2 separate regions of the Homo sapiens genome follow, and region 2 is linked to region 1. Evidence: promoter capture Hi-C in 16 types of primary human blood cells and fetal thymus (Javierre and others, 2016). All regions are on one chromosome and are shown on one strand. Each heading gives the region's core, a stretch centred on a gene start or on the middle of the fragment in contact. The rest is flanking DNA. Distances are from core to core; before and after follow the strand shown. Region 1 holds the start of PPM1B (protein phosphatase, Mg2+/Mn2+ dependent 1B). Region 2 holds the start of FBXO11 (F-box protein 11).

The links. The method cuts DNA at HindIII sites, captures the fragments that hold promoters and counts their contacts. A CHiCAGO score of 5 or more calls a contact.
Region 2: a contact is called between the fragment with the promoter of FBXO11 here and the fragment with the promoter of PPM1B in region 1, in 1 of 17 cell types (fetal thymus). The highest score is 7.8, in fetal thymus.

The regions. Positions count from the first base shown.
Region 1 is chr2:44,166,980-44,170,919 of GRCh38, reverse strand. PPM1B (protein phosphatase, Mg2+/Mn2+ dependent 1B) reads right to left here and starts at 2,045. Exons shown (of 6, transcript NM_002706.6): 1 at 1,646-2,045. PPM1B-DT (PPM1B divergent transcript) reads left to right here and starts at 2,128. Exons shown (of 2, transcript XR_940034.3): 1 at 2,128-3,622. RefSeq lists silencers at 1,485-1,694, 2,015-2,344. The HindIII fragment of the contact is 4,313 bases long and covers 1-3,748 here.
Region 2 is chr2:47,905,248-47,909,187 of GRCh38, reverse strand. It overlaps FBXO11 (F-box protein 11), which reads left to right and starts at 2,690. Exons shown (of 23, transcript NM_001190274.2): 1 at 2,690-3,699. The coding sequence starts at 3,468. LOC100506235 (a long non-coding RNA gene) reads right to left here and starts at 3,638. Exons shown (of 2, transcript NR_187636.1): 1 at 3,389-3,638; 2 at 1,021-1,870. RefSeq lists an enhancer at 1,744-2,528 and silencers at 2,598-2,697, 3,188-3,377, 3,738-3,857, 3,868-3,917. The HindIII fragment of the contact is 3,894 bases long and covers 1,585-3,940 here.

The DNA of each region.
Region 1 (3,940 bases), core at 796-3,295:
AAAATAAAGATTATCCCTGAAAATGTGTGGACTAAAATATTCTGTTCTAAATACTTAATTTTAAAATTTCGATTAGAACAACACACTGTCCATTTGGCAGACCTACAAAAACATTTCCTTAAAAAATTACCATTACTTCAACTATATTTTTAAAAGGCCTGTACACTTGGAAAAGACTATCATAATAATTAGAATAACTTGTCTCACTATTTACTTAGAAATGCCCCATTTAAAAGTAGGCCAACAATAGGAACTTTGCTATTGCACAACAGAGAAAGTAAATGAAATAACATCTATTAACATTCAGCGTCCATGGCATGTTTCTCCATCTCCTAGAACATACTGTGACTTACACTGTCTACTCTGAACAATTTACCACTTCTTCATCCATGCAGTAGCTCAAATAAAGACAGTTCCTGTGTTAATCCCACAGTAAGCCTCAGTAATTCTCACATCACCGTAGTTGTAAACGTTTGTTAACAGAAAAAGAATGTTTTTCCTAAAATAGCTACATAACACTAAGACTACTCAAATTCCTAAATAATCCTTTTACAACATGCCTGCCAACTTTATTTTGATACATTAAACATGTGGAGCCTATTTTAAAAGCTCTTTAACTGTGACTATCAAAACAACTTCCCAGTTATTAACGTCTCTTTTTAAAAAAGTTTTCAAGTTGTTCTTAGAAGAAATTGAATATTGATGAATTTGGGCTGCTATCAAACGCCTAAGAAGCACTTTTTTTGCCGAATAAGATGGGCAAACGTCCCAGATCTGCTAAATCTGATATGAGAGGTCATGCAAGTTTAAAAAATGAAGAAATAACTATTTCCAACACTCACTGAGTCCTTCATTTAAAAAATTATTTTCGGTGTTATTTTCACACTTTACGTTTAATAATACAATTTTTTCAAGGTTGTTAGGCTTAAACTATGAAAAACTGATTTACCACATATGGCTAGTCAGTCTATACTCTTAATGGGGCTCCGGTAGATTTGGGGTACTGACAATAAGTGGCAGTTTCAATTAAGAACTTCACTGTTAGGAATGACATCCGAAAAGGATGGTGCTAGGGAAGACAGGCAAGAGATGCCGGGGTACGAAGAAAAGAGAAACACACAATTTAAAGCCACTAAGGAGGGAAGGCGAGGGTAGAACGCATAGACAGCAGAGAAAGACGATTTAACAAGGAAGTGAAGTGGAGCGCAGAGTAGGGCAGAAGCTGATGAGGAAACGAATGGTAAAAGATAGTGTTTTCAAACAGGGCATGCACCAGGAAGAGAAGCGCCAAGGCTTGGGGTAGCCCCAGTGCTTTCGTGTGAAAGAGATGCTTGCAGACTGAAGCGGAGGGAAGAGAGAATCAGTCAGCTTCCAGGCGTTCCAGCAAACTCCCATTCTCTCCCTGCGCCTCTCCCAGACCTCAGCCCAGCGGAGGCGGCGGCCGGGGAAGGGGCCTATACCCGAGAGCCAGGCCCGGCGTTCCCCTGCCTAGGCTCCGCGGCAGCAGGGAAAGCAGCGAGGATTCGGAAGGACAGAGGCCCCGGCCGCGGCTCGGCAGCACCGCGAAAACCTGCCCAGGGCCCGGGGCCTCGGCGGCGCGGCCGGTCAGCCGCTTCCCCTCCGGCGGGGTGCCGGGCGGCCTTACCTGAGGCAAGGGAGGGAGAAGATGTCTAGGGCGCCTCGCTCGCGCCCGCCGCGGTACTCAGCCCAAGTTTCCAACGGAGGCGCGACCCTGACTCAGCCGCCGCTTCCCCCTCGGGGTCTCGACCGCCGCCTCCGGGGCTGTTTACACCGCCCGGCCCCTCACGCCGCCGCCGCCGCCGATGCCGCCTTCTCTCCACCCTAGCGCCGTTGCCGATTCGGCCGCCGCCACCTCCTCCGCCGCAGCCTCGTCTCTCTGGAGCATCTTCCAACCACCGAACCCTGAGAATCAGAGACTCCAGCCGCGCCGGCAGGAAACTCCCCCGCAACTGCTAGGGGAACGAGGCCGTCAGAGCACCGGCGGCTTTTCCGCCATTGAGCAGAAGCCGCTCGGCTCCTTTTGCAACCCCCTCCCCGCACCCTAGTCCTTCCCCGCCCCTCAGGGTGCCCCGCCTCCAGCTGCCACCCACTGGGATGCCGCGCGCCCTCTCACGGCCCCCGGTTTGCTGGGAGTCTTGTCAATCACCGCTCCCCCTCCCCGTGCTGCTCCCTCGGCACCTCCGTACTTCGTTTACCCCGCCCACCCGGCCCCGCCTCTGGGTTTCTAATTTCCCATTGGGCATCAGTGGCTACTTTCAATAGGCAAGGTCAGCTGTCCATCAAACACCGCCCACTAAGTGAGACCCAACCCTTTATTACCATTTACTTTATTCGGCCCCGCCTCCGCTAGGTCCTACCTCCCGAACGTCAGGGACCAGCCCCCGCTACCAGCCATAAGTAGAGCCCTCCGTCAATCAAATAACGCCCACCTGCGCTCCTCCTAGCAAAGCCCCGGCCCCAGCGATTGTCTTTTCTTATTGGTCCAACTCGTGATCCGAACCCCCAGTCACTGGCTTTCTTGCGGGTCAGTCACTGAGCCAATTTCCAAGTCCGTCACACCGGCTTTTTTCAAATGAACGCGCAAAAGGCGGGGAAGTATCTGGAAAGCGATTGGTTCGTCCTAGAAAACGGTCAAACCCGGAGAGTCTGTACGGATCCTTTCCGTTCTGTGAGGACCGTGCCCCCTTGTATTTGACCTCTAAGCCTCGCGTAAAAGAAGCGCCATAAGGGACCAACGAGCAGTCCAGCTATAGGTGTGGACGCCTGGTCCCACCCGGAATTGCAGGGGCTTGGCTACTGATTGGCTAAGAAAGTCCTCCTAGGCCCTCATTGGAGGATCTAAACGCCTCTCTTCGGCGTGGAGACGGGAAGGGACGACTCAGACGAGGACAAGAAGTGGGCAGGGGAGAGGCGGTTGTTTTGCTTCAGCCGCGGGTGGGGCGCAGGCGAGAGTGGGAAACTGGGAAGGCCGGGCTCTGGGGAGGTGTTGCGGGGAGGGGAAAGGCCCGGATGTTCCCTAACAATGAAATCATCGCCGACCTATCAGAGCCGCCGAGCTGGGATACCTGCCTGACCTGTACCCCGGAGGGAGAAGAGTGGGCGGGAAATTGGGGTGTCGGAAGAACCTGGAAAGCAACGTGAGAAAGTGGGACAGGTGTTCCCTTCAGGAGGATTTTGTGCTATTAGAGATTATTTTTATACCAGCCCTTGACATTTCCGTATTTTGTTTCTCAGTCGGCATTGATATTAAAACTCCCAGCCTAGTCTCTTGACATGGACTTGTTCATTTCGCAGTTATTGAGCGCCTACTGTTTGCCAGGTACTGTATGTAGAACTGGAGATACAAAAATAAATTAGGCAATCGCAGTACAAGATGATAGGTACTACAATTGAAACATGCACAAGGGCTGGTGACGACATAAAGGGTCTTCCTTGTGCATAGGTTTACCAAGAAAGGCTTCACAAAGACACAGGATGAGTCAAGAATGAATGATAGGGGTTTAACAGGCCGATGGGGAAAGTGGACATGACTCCTCCAGCTATCAAATTAGACGATGCTGCCATGTTAATTCTCCAAACGAGAAACAAAAGTGTAATAGAGGTATTCTAATACTTACCTTAGGATATATATATATATATATATTTTTTTTTTAATCCGAATGTCCTAAAAGAACTTAAACCTATTTCCTACTTTGGTGTAAAATGGTTTGGGCAGACAATTTAAGCTTAGACCCAACAGAGTGCTATTCAGGTTAGGGGCTGTCAATGTTTTATAGAAAAGGGCAAATTTAGTAATAGGACAATTGTCCAGGCCGTCATAAGGACGGCAGAAACAAAGACTTAATTGCAATTCGGGTTTTTTTGTTTTTTGAGCAAGCATATTTTACTTTTTAATAAGACAAATCTGAAAAAGCAAACG
Region 2 (3,940 bases), core at 1,441-3,940, 3.7 Mb before region 1:
GATGGAAAGAAGAAAAGGGTACAAGGAAGAGGTTAATCAGACTCAGTGTGCTTACTTTCCATCCCCTCTCAGGGTGGAAACTAGAATTGAGGGTATGTAGTTGACATATGCACAGAGACATAGGGAAATCCAAGAAAGTTGGAGATAGTGGTTTGCGTCCCTGGACATGTCTGTGAAACACTAAGACGTCTAGGAGTTCTACTTTCAGCCTGCCAGCATGTTCAATATGACATAAGGAGAAAAATGCAACATTGTTGGATAGTGGCTCAACAACTAGTAAGCCCAAAGCAAGGCTCCTGGCTCATCAAGGCCTACACGTGGTATTCGGGGAATCCAGAAGTACCCATGTGTCTCAGTGAGAACCATGAGGATCAAGGGACCTGTGGAGACTCGGGGTCAGTACAAAGAGGTTATAGTGTATGGGGCAAATGGCTCATGTATGGATTTCAGCAAAAGAAATCAGCCTCAAAAGTACAGAAATGACCAGTTTTATGAGTAATAAATGATAAACGACAGTGGCTGCCATCAGACAATACTAGCCACTCCACGCCAGAAGACAACATAAGGACTGGCATTAGTGGCTTAGATGCCCTTGTAAACCTCCCTATTCCTCAGGGATGCTACCACCCTACCAGTTACTCTGTGAATTTGAAAAAGGTGCTTCCTTTCTCAAGACACTTTACTACCATCTATCAGGAAATTGTCATAATATACTAATTTTGCTAAAACAAGGCATTTTACTGCCATATGTCAGAGAATTGTTGCAATAAACTTAGAAATCTAGGGTATGTAAAAGATACCCCTTATACCACATATAACAACCCTAAACCCCGCCCCTCCCATTAATATATTAGAAGGAGAGTTGGGGAAATAAAAGGTGAAAGCAGTTATGTTTTTTAAAAAATTGAGATGATGTGGGGACTTGAAGTTAAAATTACAGAAAATAAACAAGCTACATTTTCTTTACATCTGAATTAATGTAAGTAAAACTTCCACTCTGCCACACCAAAATACAAACTCTTTATGCCCAATATTTTCCTTTTATTAGTATTTCCCATAACACCTTATATACATATTAATGCATACACGGAAGGAGCCAAAAAGTACTTGTCAAATAAAAAAGTAAATTTTTAGAAAAATCAGAAATGATGGACACACTTATATGTATAACGTAATTTTCCTGTACTTTTACTTTTCCCCTATGTTTATTTGAACAAACCTAAAATTGTACCCATTTGCACCTAGCTAACCACCATAAAAATTTGGAGTTCTCCAGCTGTTTTGTAACAGCTGTCCTCCTCAAATATTTTTTTGAGAAACAAACATAGACCTACGTTTCTCTATTTTTCTGGACTAAAGAGAGATCATCTCAAAATCACAGAACTCTTAAAAATTGAAAACAGGATCATGTAGTCTAAAATAAGTTCTTATTTAAACTTGGGAGGTGAGGGGGGCGGGGCTGACATCTAGAAAGGTGAAGTACTTTGCCTGTAGTCACACACCAAGTCTGGGACTCAACACACAGGCTCGCCTCTTTGCGTCTCTCCCTCCTTCCAAAATACATTTTCCTCCCTCTCAAAAGCTTTATCACGCTTTGTAGTTGCTTAATTATCTATGTCAAACCTAGAGAGCAACTGATGACACTCAGAGACATCGCCCAAAGTTCTGAAAACCAGATAATCAGATAAACTGCCAGTTTTACCACATCCAAAAAATGCACAACAAAAGAGAGAAGGGGGAGAATCGAGAATACATTTTCAGCCGCAAGGCAATAAAAACACGTTTCCCTTGGAGAGAGATTATGTTGGGGGCATCAGGTATAAAGGTAATTCCTGTTGAGGGTTTTTCTTTTCCTTGCAGTTTGTGGGACCTAAAAAAAAAAAATTAAAAATTAAATCACATAAACAATCACAACATCAACACATTTACTTCTCTCCTCTCACATATTATTTTCCCACACATTGTATACACTTCTTCAAAGAACAAATCAAATTGGCCAAAGGTCAAAGCCTTTTCAAGGTTTAGATGATATACGATTAGGCACCGACTCCAAACTTCGCTTACCAAGCCCAAAGCTCGGAGACGGAAATCTTCAGGGTTTGCAAATACCCTCAGCTTGGCTAAAGGGCACGAAATCTCTAGCGCTCCCTACAGCTCAGATTTTGAACCCACCTACCACAGAAAACCCGAGTTACCAAAGATTGGCTCCCTCGTTCCACTTTTTTTTCAGCTCAAAAAAATCGGGTGAAGGTTGGGGTAGGGGGGAAGCTGAAACGGCGAACCGAAGGATTAATCACTTCTCCCCATTACATCAGCAACCCCCGCCCTTTCCTCCGAGCACCTCCTCTCCCAGAATCGTCGCTACGCACTGGCGCTCTCTTCGCCCACCCCCTGCTCTATTATTTGCCCTGATACCTCCCCATTATCACCCGCCCCGCCACACTCCCCCTTTCCTCTTTCCCCCTCCTAGGCGGGGGAGGGAGGAAACCCGAGAGAGGAAACAGGGCGTTGAAGGGACTTCGCGATAAGAGCGGAGGCCCCATTGGCCGGAAGGTTGTACGGGCGCCTTAGATTGGCCGCCTGGACGGAATCCCCGCCCCTCCTTTCCCCGCCCACCCACCCCTCCCCCCGCCGCCCCGCGGCCCTCCCCCGCGCCCCCGGCCAGCCCCGCGGCGGGGAGGGACCGACTGGGCGAGTGGAGGCTCCGGCGGTGTCAATGGCTCCTCCTGCCACGGAGCAGCAGCAGAAGCAGCGGCGACAGGGCTGACGAGGAGGAGGAGGAAAGGTTCCTTTAAGGAGGAGGAAGGACGACGCCTCTTTTTCCCCCTATCTCCTCCCTTCACACTCATTTCCCCTTCGCCGAGGAGAGAAGGGGGGGAGGAGAGAGAAGAGACCGAAGAAAGAGAGAAAAATTCCTCACAGAAATCTCTTTCAGGGGGTGTGGGGGGGAGGAAGAGGGAAAAAAAAGAGCCGGGCGCCCCCTGCTCCCTCCCTCCCTTCTCTCCCTCTCTTTTTCTCCCTTCCTCACCCGCCCGCCCACTCCCCCCGCTGCCGGAGACGCCGCTCGCGAGTCGGCGGGACCGGGATCTGTCTCTTCAGCCGCCGCCGCCGCCGCCGCCGCGCTTCGCCTCGGGATCCCCAAGCGGCGGACGCCCTTTCTTTCTTTCTCTCGGTCTGCCCGTCTTTCTGCCTTCGTCCCTCGCGGCCGCCCCGCCCGGCGGCTTCGGCCTTCCCCGTGCGTCAGGCCCTCCCGGCCGGCCTCGCTCGGTCTCCGTCTGTCTACCCGGGCCTTTCTCCGGACTCGGGGTCCCGCTCGCCCCCTCCGCCCTCAGCGTCTCCCCTTCCCCTCGCCCCCTCTCCTTCCTCCCCCCTCTCCCACTCTCCCCACCCCTTTCTCCTGCCCCGAAGCTCGCTGTGCGTGTGCGTGTGTGTGTCCCTCCGCCAACGCCGCCACCTCAGCCCGGCAAATGAACTCCGTCCGAGCCGCCAACCGGAGACCCAGGCGAGTGTCGCGGCCGCGCCCGGTGCAGCAACAGCAGCAGCAGCCCCCGCAGCAGCCGCCGCCGCAGCCGCCCCAGCAGCAGCCGCCCCAGCAGCAGCCTCCGCCGCCGCCGCAGCAGCAGCAGCAGCAGCAGCCTCCGCCGCCGCCACCGCCGCCTCCGCCGCTGCCTCAGGAGCGGAACAACGTCGGCGAGCGGGGTAAGGCCGCGCTACCTCCCAACCGCCCGCCTTCCCGGGCACCGCGGGAAGGGAGGCCGGGGCGGGCGGGCGGGCGGGCGGGCGGGGGCGGCCTGCGCGCCCTGGGGGTGGGAGACCCAAGCTGAGCGGAGGCGGGTCCCCCGGTGCCGCAGTGTCAGCCCGGGCCGGGCCCGGCCGGCAGGAAAAGCCGCGGCTTCCCTTCTCGCCTGGGCTCTCGCTCAGGCCGCGCTTTGTTTGGTTT